Regions from separate parts of the Homo sapiens genome. Here region 1 is linked to region 2. Evidence: promoter capture Hi-C in human tissues and cell types (Jung and others, 2019). All regions are on one chromosome and are shown on one strand. The core of a region is centred on a gene start or on the middle of the fragment in contact, and the rest is flanking DNA. Distances in the headings are between cores, read along the strand shown. Region 1 overlaps ELAPOR1 (endosome-lysosome associated apoptosis and autophagy regulator 1). Region 2 holds the start of PSMA5 (proteasome 20S subunit alpha 5).

Region 1 (7,317 bases), core at 2,218-4,717, 260 kb before region 2:
TGGATGCTTTACATATATTATTTTCTCTAATTCTCACAAGAACCTTGTGAAATAGGCATTACTATTTCTATTACAGAGACGAGGAACTGGAAGCTCAGCAAGGTTATGACCTGCTCTTTGTTATCCGGTTTACAGCCGGCGAGATTGAAATTCGAACCCAAGCTTCCACTGCTCCATAATGCCACATTCAAATAACATTTATTATGGGCAAGGCAACACTGGGTCCTAGGGAGCGAAAGTGGGGGGATATGAGGATGTGAAAGGCAGCCATATTGTTCCTTATTAAATATGGACAGTGAATACAGGAGGAAAGCAAGTGAAAGTTTCACTTATACCCAAACAATCAAATGGATAAGAAGGACTCAAGAATTGTATTACACTTGGATTTCTAAAAACCGGGAGCAATGTTTCCCATTCCTATACTTAAATCTTGTCTAAGCCAAGCAGTGGCTATTTAATCTGTAGTCCAATTTTAATGTTATGTTATTTTAGAGTTCAACTTGGTGTGTCAGATTCATTAGCATGACAATACTGGAGGCAGAGATAAAGCTAGAGAGCTTTAAAGCTGGAAGGAGCGGGAATGTGTGGGTTAAGACAACCAACTCCCATTTGAGTCCTAACTGAGAATGTCATTAGGCCCTGGACAAGGTGCAGACATGGCTCAGTCAATTCCTACCCATGTAAAGGAAGGATTTCTTCTCTCTCTGGGGACTGCACCGAGAGTCCAGAAATCATTATCTCTCAGAGAGGCAGGATGTGGGTGGGTTAATAACAACTTGTGTTTCCACCGCACGGACTATTTCAGGGCCTGCATCTTAAGGCATCCCACGACATCCCGGGGAGGGAGGGAGAGGATATTTCTCTGTCAATGGAGAGGAAATGGCCATCTGGAGAGCTTTTGTGGTTTCCCCATCATCCCTCAGAAAGGCAATAATTGAGCTAATACCTAGAGCGCAAGTATTTGGCTTTCCTATTCAGCTGTGCAGCTACCCAAATCCTGCCTGCTCTGCCTCAAGAGACTCCAAGCTCATCTCCTGCTTCCATTCCCAGCCTCCTCCAGGCCTGTCCACTCAGCAGCCAGATTCATCTTTCTTTTTTCTTTTTTTTAAGAAACAAGGTCTCACTCTGTCACCCAGGCTGGAGTGCAATGGCGCAATCACAGCTCACTGCAGCCTCAACCTCCCCGGGCTGAAGCCATCTTCCCACCTCAACCTCCCGCGTAGCTGGGACTGCAGGCTCATGCCACCACACCTGGCTAACTTCTTATTTTTCTAGAGACACGGTTTCACTTATGTTGCCCAGGTTGGACTCAAACTCCTGGGCTCAAATGATCCTTCCGCCTCAACCTCCCAAAGTACTGGGATTACGGATGTGAGCCACTGCACCCAGCCTCATCTCCTTAAATCCAGTCACAGTACTTTCCCGCTCAAAACCCTAGATTCAATGGCTACCAATTGCTCTTGGGATAAAGTCCACTACCTTCCCACAGCCTGCAGGGCCCTGCTGCCCTGCCCCCTGCCCTCTGCTTGTTTCCCCAGCCTCTCCCAAGTTCCTTCTGTCTTCACTTGCTGTGTTCCAGCCACACTGACCATCACACTCCTTCCCCTCCTCAGGGCATTTGAACATGTGACTCTCTGTCCCCTCTTCTATGTCTCCTACTTAACCCTCAGGTCTCTACCTAAAAATCCCTTCCTCAAAGAAACCATCCCCGACCCCACAGACTCCTGTTACACTCTCTTTATCATCCTGCATTTCTCCAATGGCACTTATCACAGTCATTGCTATGTGATTGTGTGATTAGTTAAGCTTCTGTCTCCTCAACTAGAAAGAGAATGCAAGCCCCAAGAGGGAAAGGATCATACTTGTCTTGTTCATCACTGTGTCTCCAGCATCTAACATAGTGTCTGGCTCAAAATAGACAAAATAAATAATTGGGGACAAAACAGACCAGCTGAACGGAGTCTCCATGGCAGGATTCTGAGCCTTCAGGGATCCTCCCATGGGTCCTGGGTTGATGTCCCAGGGCTAAGGTACTGGCCTGAGATCAGAAACTAGGATAAGCTAAGGGAACAGGAGTGACGTGGGTGTAATAGAAAGAATGTCATATATTAGTGGAAAAGATCAAGCAGACGCCCAAAGACTGTGACAGTGAAACAAGAATGAGAGAGAAATGTAAACATTAAAAATGAAAAACATTATATGCAGATCACAACTGGATGACCTAGGGTAAGTTTCCTAAGCACTTCTGGGCTTCAGTTTCTTCATTCTAAAAATGATGATAAAAATAGTACTCTTATAGTTGAGGTAAGGATTGATGAGATGATACTTGTAAAGAATTTAGAGCGATGCCTGACACTAGAAATCAATCAAAACATGTTGTTATTATTGAATATGAAATGTCTTCACCGGGGGCAATTCTGACAAAAATCAGAATTATGATGCATTTTGCAAATGTAACCCACTTATGGCATCTTTTAAATTATTTATTAAACTTCAAGAGTTATTTATAGCTGATGTCGTGGAGCATATCAGCATTAAAGGTTATCCCTTTCAACAAGGAGAAATCAATGCTGTTAGGTTAGCTGGGATATTTTGGATGAGCTCATGTTATATGTTTTCGTTTTGAGAATAACACTGACTGTCAAAGAGCTGAAAATAACCATGTTATTCTGACAAACACAGGGGGAAATCTGTGGACTAATCTGAGATTCCTTTAACTGGCTATTATTATTATTATTTTGATATGGAGTCTCGCTTTATCACCCAGGCTGGAGTGCAATGGCACAATCTCGGCTCACTGCAACCTCCGCCTCCCAAGTTCAAGTGATTCTCCTGCCTCAGCCTCCTGAGGAGCTGGGATTACAGCCACGTGCCACAACACCCAGCTAATTTTTGCATTTTTAGTAGAGATGGGGTTTCACCATGTTGGTCAGGCTGGTCTCGATGGTCTCGAACTCCTCACCTCAGGTGATCCACCCGCCTCAGCCTCCCAAAGTGCTGCGATTACAGGCATGAGCCACCACGCCCACCCAACTGGCCATTATTAAGCAACTGGAAACCTGGGCTGGTCTCAGGCAAAACAGTGCAATAGCGTGAGTGTTTTCGATTACCTGTTTCCACATTCAACTCTTTAACCCTGTGACTCCCCACTATGTGCCAGGTCCAGGCTGGTGCTGGGAATACTTTAGTGAGTAAGGTAAATTTGGTCTCTTCCCTCACATAATATTGGCAACAATTTTGAGGTCTGACAGTTTCAAATTTGGAGAGGATGTGGAGCAACAGGAACAGTGTAGCAGTAGCTGGTAAATGGGAGGCTCACATACAGTTCTCCTCCCAGGCTTTCTACTCAGACATGTGCCTAAGGAGACAGGAACACAGCAGAATGTGCACATGAAACTGCAAACAATCCAAATGTCCATCAACGAGTAATGCACAAATATATATGGCAGAGCCGTACAAAGGAATGTTATGCAGTAGTAAAGACGAAGCCAAAAAAGCTGGATGTGTGAATATGGATGAATCTCACAGTTAGTATATTGAAGTCCCTTCCTTCCCAAAGTGAGTTTCAGAGCCCATAAATATAATACCATTTATGTGAAGCTTGAAAACATGCGAAGCACTACCATACAGTATGTTGTTTAGAGATACATACATGTAGAGAACCGCATGCGCATGTTAAACACCAGATTCAGGAAATTAGTCACTTGGCAGTGGGGAAGGCAGTGTGTTCCAGGAAAAGGGATGAGGTTAGTGGAGGGTACGCAGAGGCTTCTGCTGTGTTGAACTTCTTAAGCAGGGTGATGGGTCGGGGAGTGTTCATTACACCATTGTATAGGTCTTACATATTTCATAATATACTAAAAATATATAAAATATCATGGGATTATGGCTATGAGAAGGAGAGCAAAGAGAGCTAAGGGCACCCATAGCAGAAGCAGATAGAATCAAGGAAGACTTTTTAGATTAAGTGACATTTAAGACACAGTAGGAGTTAAACTGAGAGAGAGAGGAGGAAGTTCATTCCAGGAAGAGGGAAGAGGATGTCAGGAGGCCCAGAGGTAAGAGAAAGCTTGGCAGAGGAATTGAAAGAAATGTCATAGAGTTGAAGTATATAGAGTGCATCAGGAATTTGTACCCTATCCTAAGGGCCACAGGGAGTCAGTCCCAGGGGTTTTAATTTGAAGCAAGGGAGTGCCATGGTCAGACGTCTATTCTGGAGGATCTGTCCGCTGGGCTGCAGCATGCAGAGGGCTTGGAGGATGTGGGACTGGCTTCAGGGAGACAAGTTTGGGGGCTGGTTCATAGATGGTGTGGTGGTGAGTGTAGGGAGAGCCCGTGGACAGGGTGGATAGAGTGAACACGTATTTAGGAGATAAAACAGACATGACCAGGTTGGCTGTCTCCAGGGTTCTCCGGCCCTCCTTGTTTCCATAAAAACCATTTACATGCAGCATCTTATAGTAGACATTTCTGGAAAAACAGGTAGACTAGACTGGGTGGATGTCTGAGTTCTGAAGAATATCTGTGTCTACTGAGTTATTTGACAGCTTTAGAGTTTGGCAGACCTGATTTCAGCCCTGCCACTCGCTGCTTCGTAATACTGGGCTTGGCACTCTCCAAGCCCCAGTTTCATCATCTCTTAAACAGAAAAAACATTTCCTCTTATTGATGAAAATAAATCATGAATATAAAGCACGTAGTTCAATTCCTGGAAGGTAGTAAGCAACCAATAAATGTTACCCCTCCCTGACTAGGCGCAGTGGCTCATGCCTGTAATCCCAGCCCTTTTTGAGGCCGAGGTGGGTGGATCACTTGAGGTCAGGAGTTCGAGACCAGGCTGGCCAACATGGTGAAAACCTGTCTCTACTAAAAAAAAATACAGAAATTAGCTGGGTGTGGTGGTGCATGCCTGTAATCCTAGCTACTCGGGAGGCTGAGACAGGAGAATTGCTTGAACCCGGGAGGCAGAGGTTGTGGTGAGCCGAGGCCACGCCACTGCACTCCAGCCTGGGAGACAGAGCGAGACTCTGCCTCAAAAAAAAAAAGATGTTAGCCCTCCCCAACTTCACCTGCCACCCGTATCCCAGGTAGCTCTGCACAATGTGGAGGCATGCCTGCTTGTTTTCCTCACCTGTCTGCCTTCCTCTTCTTAGCTGTACTCCAGGTCCTTGACCTACCTGAGAGCTTCTTTTGTCTTTCTTCACTGAGCATTTTCAGGTCCAAGTTTCAGTTTGTGAATCACAAGCCTGAAAATTCCCAAAGACCCAGCAGAACATGAGACCTGCACATGGCACAAAGCCTGGTGGGCTGTGCTCCTGCCTGTGAACCTGGTTCCTGTTCCTTCACAGGTCCAAGTGGGTTCCCCGGGGCGACTACATCGCCTCCAACACGGACGAATGCACAGCCACACTGATGTACGCCGTCAACCTGAAGCAATCTGGCACCGTTAACTTCGAATACTACTATCCAGACTCCAGCATCATCTTTGAGTTTTTCGTAAGCCCCTGGCCAAGGTGGAGGGTGGGAGCTAAAAAGCCTCTCTGGGGTTCAGATCCGTTTGAGGAATCCATCATGAGTGTAGCCCTGCTTGGGGGAATCACTGTTGTTTTCTCTCTGGAGAGAGCTGTGGGCAAAATGAGCTGAGGCCCAGGAGGCAAGAAGAAAAGGCAAAAGTGAAAGGACTATTGGGGGAAGAATTGTCTGGCAGATTTCTAAGTGTTTTATCCAGCTCAGACATGAAAACAGCACATCTGAGTTACAAGTTATTTCTTTGGTGTCAACGCTCATTTTGTGTGTGTGACTAACTCCTGCCCTACTTTGAGGCTCATGTGTTTTGAGCTCAATCCCTAAAGGAAATTGGCAACTCTTCCCATATAAAGAAGGGCCCTCTGGAGGGCTGGTGCAATGTGGGGAAAGGTATCCATTTCCTTAGAAAGCTGAGACTCTGGTCCCAAACTCTTTTTATGTCAGGTTCAGAATGACCAGTGCCAGCCCAATGCAGATGACTCCAGGTGGATGAAGACCACAGAGAAAGGATGGGAATTCCACAGTGTGAGTATCACACCAGCCTTCTCCCAGAGATCCCAGAAAAGGGACCCAGGGCCTTTCCTCAGAGAGTGCTTCCTCCCAGTCTGAGCCTCCACCCCAATGTCCCTGGAGGGCAGGAATGTGATATGATGAAGATGCTGTAGTTACTGTCCTCTAGCATTGACAGAATATGGGTGTGAGCTGACTTGTAGCTTCTATGGCTTGACTCCAAAGACCAGCAGCTTTCCAGCTTTAAGACTGGGTCTTCTGCCGGGCATGGTGGCTCATGCCTGTAATCCCAGCACTTTGGGAGGTCGAGGCAGGTGGATCACCTGAGGTCAGGAGTTCGAGACCAGCCTGACCAACATGGAGAAACCCCATCTCTACTAAAAATACAAAAAAATTAGCCAGGTATGGTGGCCCATGCTTGTAATCCCAGCTACTCGGGAGGCTGAGGCAGGAGACTCGCTTGAACCCAGGAGGCGGAGGTTGTGGTGAGCTGAGATCGAGCCATTGCACTCCAGCCTGGGCAACAAAAGCGAAACTCTGTCTCAAAAAAAAAAAAAAAAAAAAAAAGACTGGGTATTCTGGGGAGGGGGGCTGTCCCCCTGCAAAACCACAGAAGAATGAGGGAGTGCCAGTCACCCTGTTGTCAGGACCCTCAGGTCTCTTTACTGGTCTCACCATAAGAGATGCTCATGGTATATATGATCCAGGGAGTGGTGGGAGGGTTGTAAGAGGAGGCTTAGAAAGAGAGAGGAGCTGTGCTAAGTTGGGAAGAAGGACAGAGCTGAGGAAGAGGAGGAAGAGGGTCAGAAGAAGCATTACCATGCAGTTAGTAAGAGAAGTCATCCCAACAAGAGGCTATACCAACAGATTAGCGAGATTTTTCTCTGTGATGAATGAATGCTCCTGTTTGTGGTTTTTAGGTGGAGCTAAATCGAGGCAATAATGTCCTCTATTGGAGAACCACAGCCTTCTCAGTATGGACCAAAGTACCCAAGCCTGTGCTGGTGAGAAACATTGCCATAACAGGTACTGAGAGCAGGGTTACTGACTTCCTGGGCTGTTGACTTTGCAGTCTCCTGGGGACTCAGTCTCCAGGCTGAATCCTTGCTTTTCTGTGCTCTTCCTCCTCCCTAGGGGTGGCCTACACTTCAGAATGCTTCCCCTGCAAACCTGGCACGTATGCAGACAAGCAGGGCTCCTCTTTCTGCAAACTTTGCCCAGCCAACTCTTATTCAAATAAAGGAGAAACTTCTTGCCACCAGTGTGACCCTGACAAATACT
Region 2 (7,344 bases), core at 2,219-4,718:
CTCAAGTGTGCTGGAAATCCCTACGGAGAAGAGGCACCAATCATGGTCTCAGCTATAAAAGCTTTGAGCACACAATGGACACAAAAAATATGTGAACAAATGAATGAGATGGTTGCAATCCGTGGTTTATGGAGTCCAGACTTTACAACAGGTAACATGTCATATAGTAGTGCTTTTGGCCTGGCGTGGTGGCTCACGCCTGTAATCCCAGCACGTTGGGAGGATGAGGCAGGCGGATCACCTGAGGTCAGGAGTTCGAGACCAGGCTGGCCAACAAGGTGAAACCCCGTCTCTACTAAAAACACATAAATTAGCTGGGCGTGGTGGCAGGTGCCTGTAATCCCAGCTACTTGAGAGGCTAAGGCATGAGAATCACTTGAACCCAGGAGGCGGAGGTTGCAGTGAGCCGAGATGGTGCCACTACACTCCAGCCTGGGAGAGTGCTAAGCACAAGTTACTTCCAAATCTCTACTACCAGTTTCACCTCTTTCCTAACTAATTTAAATGTTTGCTGAACATTTCCACTTGCATATCCTATTAGCACTTAACACTTAACGTTTTCCAGTTTGAAATATTATCTCTTTAAATCCAGCCACCTTGCAAAATTGACTTCATCTCCTGCCATTCCAATTTCAGTTTTAATTTAAAACATCTCAAATCTTCCAGTGTTCCCAACATACGAAGTTCTAAATGATCTGACTCATTCCTCCCCATCTTTTCCCATATCCAACTATATGCTAAGTCATACCAATTCATATCAATTCCTCCTCCACAGTAACACATCACTCTTCCTTCTCAATGCCCTCATTACCTTTCACCTAACTATTGTTAATAGCCTAACACTAACAGGTATTGACTCACTTTCCCCTAATTCAGACAATTAATCTCTGTAAAACACAATTATTATTTAACAGCACACAGTTGCCTACAGAAATAGGACCCAAACTCCTTAGCCTCGTATTAAAAACCATTCAATATCTAGCAGCATCCTGTTTTTCCCATTATCTCCTGCTGTTCCCATACACGTATCATATGTGCCAGTCAGACTGGACTTTTCCCAAAATGTATTGTGCTTTTCCATTGCCCCTCCTTCATTTATCCCATATTCTCCAACCCACAACTATTGATCTCACTGTCTTTATTAAATTCCTACTCTTTCAAGAAACCTAGTTTAAATGTCAGCTCCTTTGTGAAGTTTTCCATGATCGTCTCATATTGAATGCAATCCCTCATCAAAACTTCCATGGTATTGATTTGAATTTCTCTAATGGCATTAATATATTTCTGACTCACACTATAGTTACTTCTGTAAACAATTCTTTTTTTTTTTTGGAGACAAGGTCAGCGCCACCACACCCGGCTGATATTTTTTAATGTTTAGTAGAGATGAGGTCTCACTATGTTGCCCAGGCTGGTCTCCAACTCCTGAGCTCAGGCAATCCTGCCTCGGCCTTCCAAAGTGCTGGAATTACAGGCATGAGCCACTGTACCTGTAAACAATTCTTTAAGAGTCTCAGGCCGAGCGAGGTGGCTCTCGCCTGTAATCCCAGCACTTTGGGAGGCCAAGGCAGGTGGACCACGAGGTCAGGAGTTCAAGACCAGCCTGGCCAAGATGAGGAAACCCTGTCTCTACTAAAAACACAAAAATTAGCCGGGCGTGGTGGCACCGCCTGTAATCCCAGCTACTCAGGACGCTGAGTCAGAGAATTGCTTAAACCCAGGCGGCAGGCCAGGCGCGGTGGCTCACTCCTGTAATCCCAGCACTTTGGGAGGCCAAGGCAGGTGGATCACGAGGTCAAAAGATCGAGACCATCCTGGCCAACATGGTGAAACCCTGTCTCTACTAAAAATACAAAAATTAGCTGGGAGTGGTGGCGCGCGCCTGTAGTCCCAGCTACTCGGGAGGCTGAGGCAGGAGAATCGCTTGAACCCAGGAGGCGGAGGTTGCAGTGAGCCGAGATCATGCCACTGCACTGCAGCCTGGCGACAGAGCGAGACTCCGTCTCAAAAACAAACAAAACCCAGGAGGGGGAGGTTGCAGTGAGCCAAGATCACGTCACTGCACTCCAGCCTGGGCCACAGAGCGAGACTGTCTCAAAAGAGTCTCCTATATGCGAGCAAGGAGCTTGATTTTGTCCATTGCTGTAGCACCAGCACCTAGAACAGTGCCTTGTTCACAGCAAGCACTCAAGCACATTAACTAAGAGAATAAAAAGGGATGTATTTTAGGCCGTCTTGGGAAGACAGAAAAATAAGTAACAAAGCAGTCAATACATATGTTAAGTAAATGGCCACAAAATTTAATAAATGCCTTCTGATAAGCATAACAATTTCTATCATACACACCCTAACTCAAAATTATGTCACCCGAAGATGATTCTCTTCAATGTTCTGGAAGTTAAATATCGACCAACAAAGTCACTTTATAGGACAGTGGGGAAATATGTCAAAACTTCACACACATCTTCTACGAGTCAGTAAAAAAGATGAAAAAGTGGTAACTGCAGGTGGTAAAACTTCGACAGGATCAGCATATACTTGACAGGAAATGCAGCATCTCATACCACTCAGTACAAAGAAAATGTCTGCCTTCCCTGACTTTAAAAAAGAGTAGCTATGTAAAAACTTAACTGACGAAAACAGAAACTGAAAGTAAAAATGTCTACAGCATATATATGTACAACTTAATATTGTGAACATTTTCATACCACAAAAGTTTTTTAAAACTTGCTTTAAACTTTTAAAAAGTCAGAAAAAATTTTGGTCAATTGGAATCGGCATGATGAGAAATCTCTTGAAAACCATTCTAAATTCCAGTTCCTATAAAATCAGACTCCAGACAATATATCCAGCCAAAGCTACGACTGCCTTCGCGCTTCTGAAGAAACTATACACCGCAGCATGCCCTACTACAAACCAGTTGCTTTTTCTTCCAGGAAGCACGTTTAACTTTTTGTTTGTTTGTTCAAGGCAGTCATACTAGGCACGAAAAGATGAACGGAGCAAAGAGTGACCCTTGGCCTTCTCCGGGTTCAAGGTAGGAGTTCCGGCTCCTCACGCCTTCTTTACCAAGCACCAGCCGGAGCTTCTCGCTTCCGCACCGAGTTAGGACCCAGGGGTGACTCAGCGGTAGGACAAGTGCCGCCGATGTGGTCTAGCTTGGGGAAGGACGGCGGGCGCCTGAGGAGGGCATAACATCCCCAGGTCCGGCCAGTCTCGGGTTCCTGGGGAGCCCCATGACACGGCAGAACCCAGGCCGCGCGGCCAGGTCCCGGGCCTGCCCACCCATAATTCCCACCCGACGTCCCCCAGCTGCACGGACCTGTCGTACTCAGACCGGGTAAGAAACATGGCGAGGGTAGGAGGAGGCAGCGGCTACGCGGGGATTCTGAGGACCAACACGACTCCACCGGCACCCAACTCACCGGCAGCCAACTCACCCACACGGCCGCAGTACTAAGGACCAACTGCGCGTGCGACCGCGACCTCTTTAGCCCGCCCTCCTGTGCCTGCTTCCTATTGGCTGGTAGTAGTTCCCGCCTAGGTGATTGGGCCAACGCGCTTCCTCACGAGGGCTTGGTTGGTCCGGAGGAGGAGGAGGACCAGGGAGGTACTTCCGCCTTAAATCGCGGGTGGTTGCTAGGGACGATAGGCACCCAAGGCGTGTAGTGAGTTCGCCTTGTAGAGAAGATGTGAGCCCGCCCCAAGACTGGCAATTGGAAAGGCTTGCATGCAGAGCTGGGTTGTCTGAACCCTGACATAATAGGTCCCTCGCCGGCTCCCGTAATCCCAGCTAGAGGACTTTGGTCCCGTTTCCGGCAAGGCCACCACCTGACTTCTCTTCGCAGGATTCCCTCTCTTAGGGTTCCTCCACGGTGTTCTCCATGCCCGGTCGAGGGCTCCAGGACTTTGGGCGGTAATGAGTCGGCTACAGTGGGTCTGAGCCGGCGCCGCGGACGAGTCCCTTCGTTTCAGCCAGTTTGGCTCGTTTATTGAGAAAAGTGGGGGGCGAGGGGTTAGTATGTAAGAAAGTCTTAAAGTTTCCACATGGTTAAGGTAATTTTATCAACTCTTTCTTGCACCCCTCCCCCTAGTACAGGTTTCAGACCTAAATAACCTAGAGTTCAGGATCCAGACTTCAAAATATTCACTGCTTTTTCTGTTGTTTGTGAAAAATAAGTGTTTTCTTTGAGCCCAGATCGTGCTATTGCACTCCAGCCTGGGCAACAGCCAAACCCTATCCGAAAAAAAAAAAAAAAAAAAAAGCGCTTTCTTTTTCGACGCTTCTTGCTTCCCTTCAATAAGTTGCTTGAGGAGCAACTTTGCAGCTTCGTAATAACACTGTAATTCAAGTATTTGTTCAAGAAAGGCAAGTAAGAAGTCTTGGCACGGGGGTGGGGAATATAGGGAAATGTTGGTCAAATGATACAAAGTTTCAGTCAGAGAAGGTGGATGAGTTCTATAGTTAATAATCATATATTGTGTACTTGAAATTGTGAAGAGGGTACACCTTAAATGTTCTCACCACAGGAAAGTATGTGAGATGATGGATTATGTTGATTAGCTTCATTTAATTATTTGCAGTGTGTGTGTGTATATATATGTATATCAAAACGTCACGTTGTATACCATAAACATGAACAATTTCTATTTGTCACTTACACCTTAAAGCTGGAGTCGGGGGAAAGAAATCATTTATCAGGCAGTATATGCTGGAAAGGGAAATGCCAGCATCTCATTTCCAGTTGTTAATGTGATACCACTAGTCAAGTCCTTAACCTCTCAAGGCCTGTATCTCTCCAGTAAAGTTCATTCTTGGTCCTAGATTAGGTTTGTAAGTCACCAAGGCATTTCAAAGGTGCAGGAAATGTAAAAATAAGCCTTTTGAGTATTAACCAAGATTAGTTTTCCCCACCCTTTATTTTCTGACTTCCTTCATGGATTCAGTAGGAGTTTAGTTTGGTCATCCCTGGCCAATCAGATGTTTAGCACTAATAAAACTGAGGAAGAACTCCAAGTAGCAATCCTCTGGGATCTGTTAGATTTCTGAGAAAAGAATGGTAATTTTTAGCTTTCTTGTCAGCTTTCTGACAAGCTTTTTTTTTTTTTCACCTTATCAGTTATTTTCTATGGAAAAGTCTTGGTCGTAAATTCACTACAGCTGCTCTTTAGAAGTTCTTTTATGGCCAGGCACAGGGGCTCACGCCTGTAATCCCAGTACTTTGGGAGGCCGAGGTGGGTGGATCACGAGGTCAGGAGTTCAAGACCAGCCTGGCCAAGATGGTGAAACCCTGTCTCTACTAAAAATACAAAAATTAGCTGGGCGTGATGTTGGGTGCCTGTGATCCCAGCTACTCGGAAGGCTGAGGCAGAGAGTTGCTTGAACCTGGGAGGCAGAGGTTGCGGTGAGCCAAGATCTCACCACTGCACTCCAGCCTGAGCAACAGAGTGAGACTCCATCTCAAAAAAAAACCAAAAAAAACGGAGTTATTTTACTACGTAGGTACTTTAGCATAATATTTCCTGAGCACCCAGGGTTCCATGGTGCTCTGCAGACCCTATCAATGTCAGAGACAGTAGTGAATTGCTTACGAAATGTTCTTGAATGTAGAATCTCCTCTGGGTAAATGTGTTTGTGCTATATATAACATAAATGAAGGGGAGCTGCAGGTAATTGTGGATAGGAAGGAAAATCTTTTCTCCCAAGAGAGTGCATTGTAACAATCTAGCAGCTAGCATAATGTGTCTTTGAAAGAAATAAAATGAGAAATTAGCTATTTAAAAGTAATTGAAGTTAAAATGTGTGTACGTACAAAGGAATATTGTTCACCCTTTAAAAAGGAATGAAATTCTGATACATGCTACAACTTGGATTAGACTTGAAGACCTTATGCTAGGCGAAATCTCAAGACACAGAAAGACAAATATTGTATGATTCTACTTATGTTCGGTACCTAGAATAGTCAAATTCATAGAAACAGAAAGTAGAATAGTGATTATCTAGGGCTGGAGGAAAAGGGGAATGAGGAGTTAATGGGTTTAATGGGTACACCATTTCAGTTTGGGATGATAATGAAGTTCTGGAGATGGATTGTAGTGATGGTTGCACAACAGTGTGAATGTATTTAATGTCACTGAATTGTACACTTAAAAATGGTTAAAATGGTAAGTTTTATGTTAGGATATTTTACCACAACAGAAATAATTTTTTAAGTTAAAGGGGGGAAAAAGGAAAATAATGGAAATGTGAGTTCTTTGAGGGTCAGTACTCTCTTGTTCAGCCTAGCACCTGGCATATGCTCTAGATACATTTGTTTAGTAAATAAGTATTTATTTTTTTAACTTTTATTTTAAGTCCAGGGTGTATGTGCAGGATGTGCAGGTTTGTTATATAGGTAAACGTGTGCCATGGGGATCTGCTGTACACACCATTTCGTCACCCAGGTATCAAGCCTAGTATCCACCAGTCATTTCTCCTGATCCCCTCCCTCCTGCCACCCTCCGCCCTCCAGTAGGCCCCAGTATGTGTTGTTCCCCTCCGTGTGTCCATGTGTTCTCATCATTGAGCTCTCACTTGTAAGTGAGAACATGTGGTATTTGGTTTCTGTTCCTACATTAGTTTGCTAAGGATAATGGCCTCCAGATAAGGATTGATTGATTGATTGATTGCTATAGGCATACTAGTTCCATAGACATTAATATATGTGTGACTTGGAGAAGTAGAGTAAGTAGAAAATTCAGAATTTCAAATAGCCACTTTAAAATGTTTTTAAGTACTGTATTTCTTTAAATTTTTTAAATAAAATAGACAAAAGTTTGGTTGGCTACACCTTTTTAGGTGAAATATACTGAGAGATGCGGACTCTTCCTCATTGGAGAAATGTAAGTTATTTAGACATTAATAAAAGTTCTGCGTTCACCCATAGAGTGAGAGTTCTCAAATATTTTGGTACTATTTTGCACATTTTTGCAAAGAAAGGAAGATCATCCTTAATTGAAAGCTGCCATGATTATTTTACAGATGAAACAAACTGTATTGCAGTAAAGATACTTTTTCAACTATAGATTGGAAGCTGTGTCATTCTACTGGAAGTAAATGAAGTAGTTTGGTAAAGTTAATAGCCCGATAAATGTTGAAAATACTCACATTTGTTAGCAAACATCATATATGAGTACTTTGTGTCAGACATTCCTGGGTGAGGCAGAAAATATGTGGAGAATTTAAAAAGTGATTCCAAATAAATTTAGGTCCCTTTGCTCTTTCTAAATATTACATTCCCCAAATCCATTTATCCACATTTATCTCTAGTAACTACAATTTGTTTATGTAAAAAGACATTTTAG

Evidence for each region. Contacts are between HindIII fragments. The study calls those that stand out against the background at their distance.
Region 1: a contact is called between a fragment that was not itself captured here and the fragment with the promoter of PSMA5 in region 2, in 2 of the 25 tissues and cell types used here (dorsolateral prefrontal cortex and hippocampus).

Annotation. Positions count from the first base shown.
Region 1 is chr1:109,166,518-109,173,834 of GRCh38, forward strand. It overlaps ELAPOR1 (endosome-lysosome associated apoptosis and autophagy regulator 1), which reads left to right. Exons shown (of 22, transcript NM_020775.5): 4 at 5,349-5,496; 5 at 5,971-6,051; 6 at 6,957-7,062; 7 at 7,171-7,317. Among named protein-coding and RNA genes, the nearest start is that of SARS1, 44 kb to the right of the region's middle. The HindIII fragment of the contact is 4,966 bases long and covers 985-5,950 here.
Region 2 is chr1:109,422,980-109,430,323 of GRCh38, forward strand. PSMA5 (proteasome 20S subunit alpha 5) reads right to left here and starts at 3,469. Exons shown (of 9, transcript NM_002790.4): 1 at 3,323-3,469. The coding sequence starts at 3,351. RefSeq lists enhancers at 3,532-4,463, 3,970-4,029. The HindIII fragment of the contact is 7,725 bases long and covers 1-6,817 here.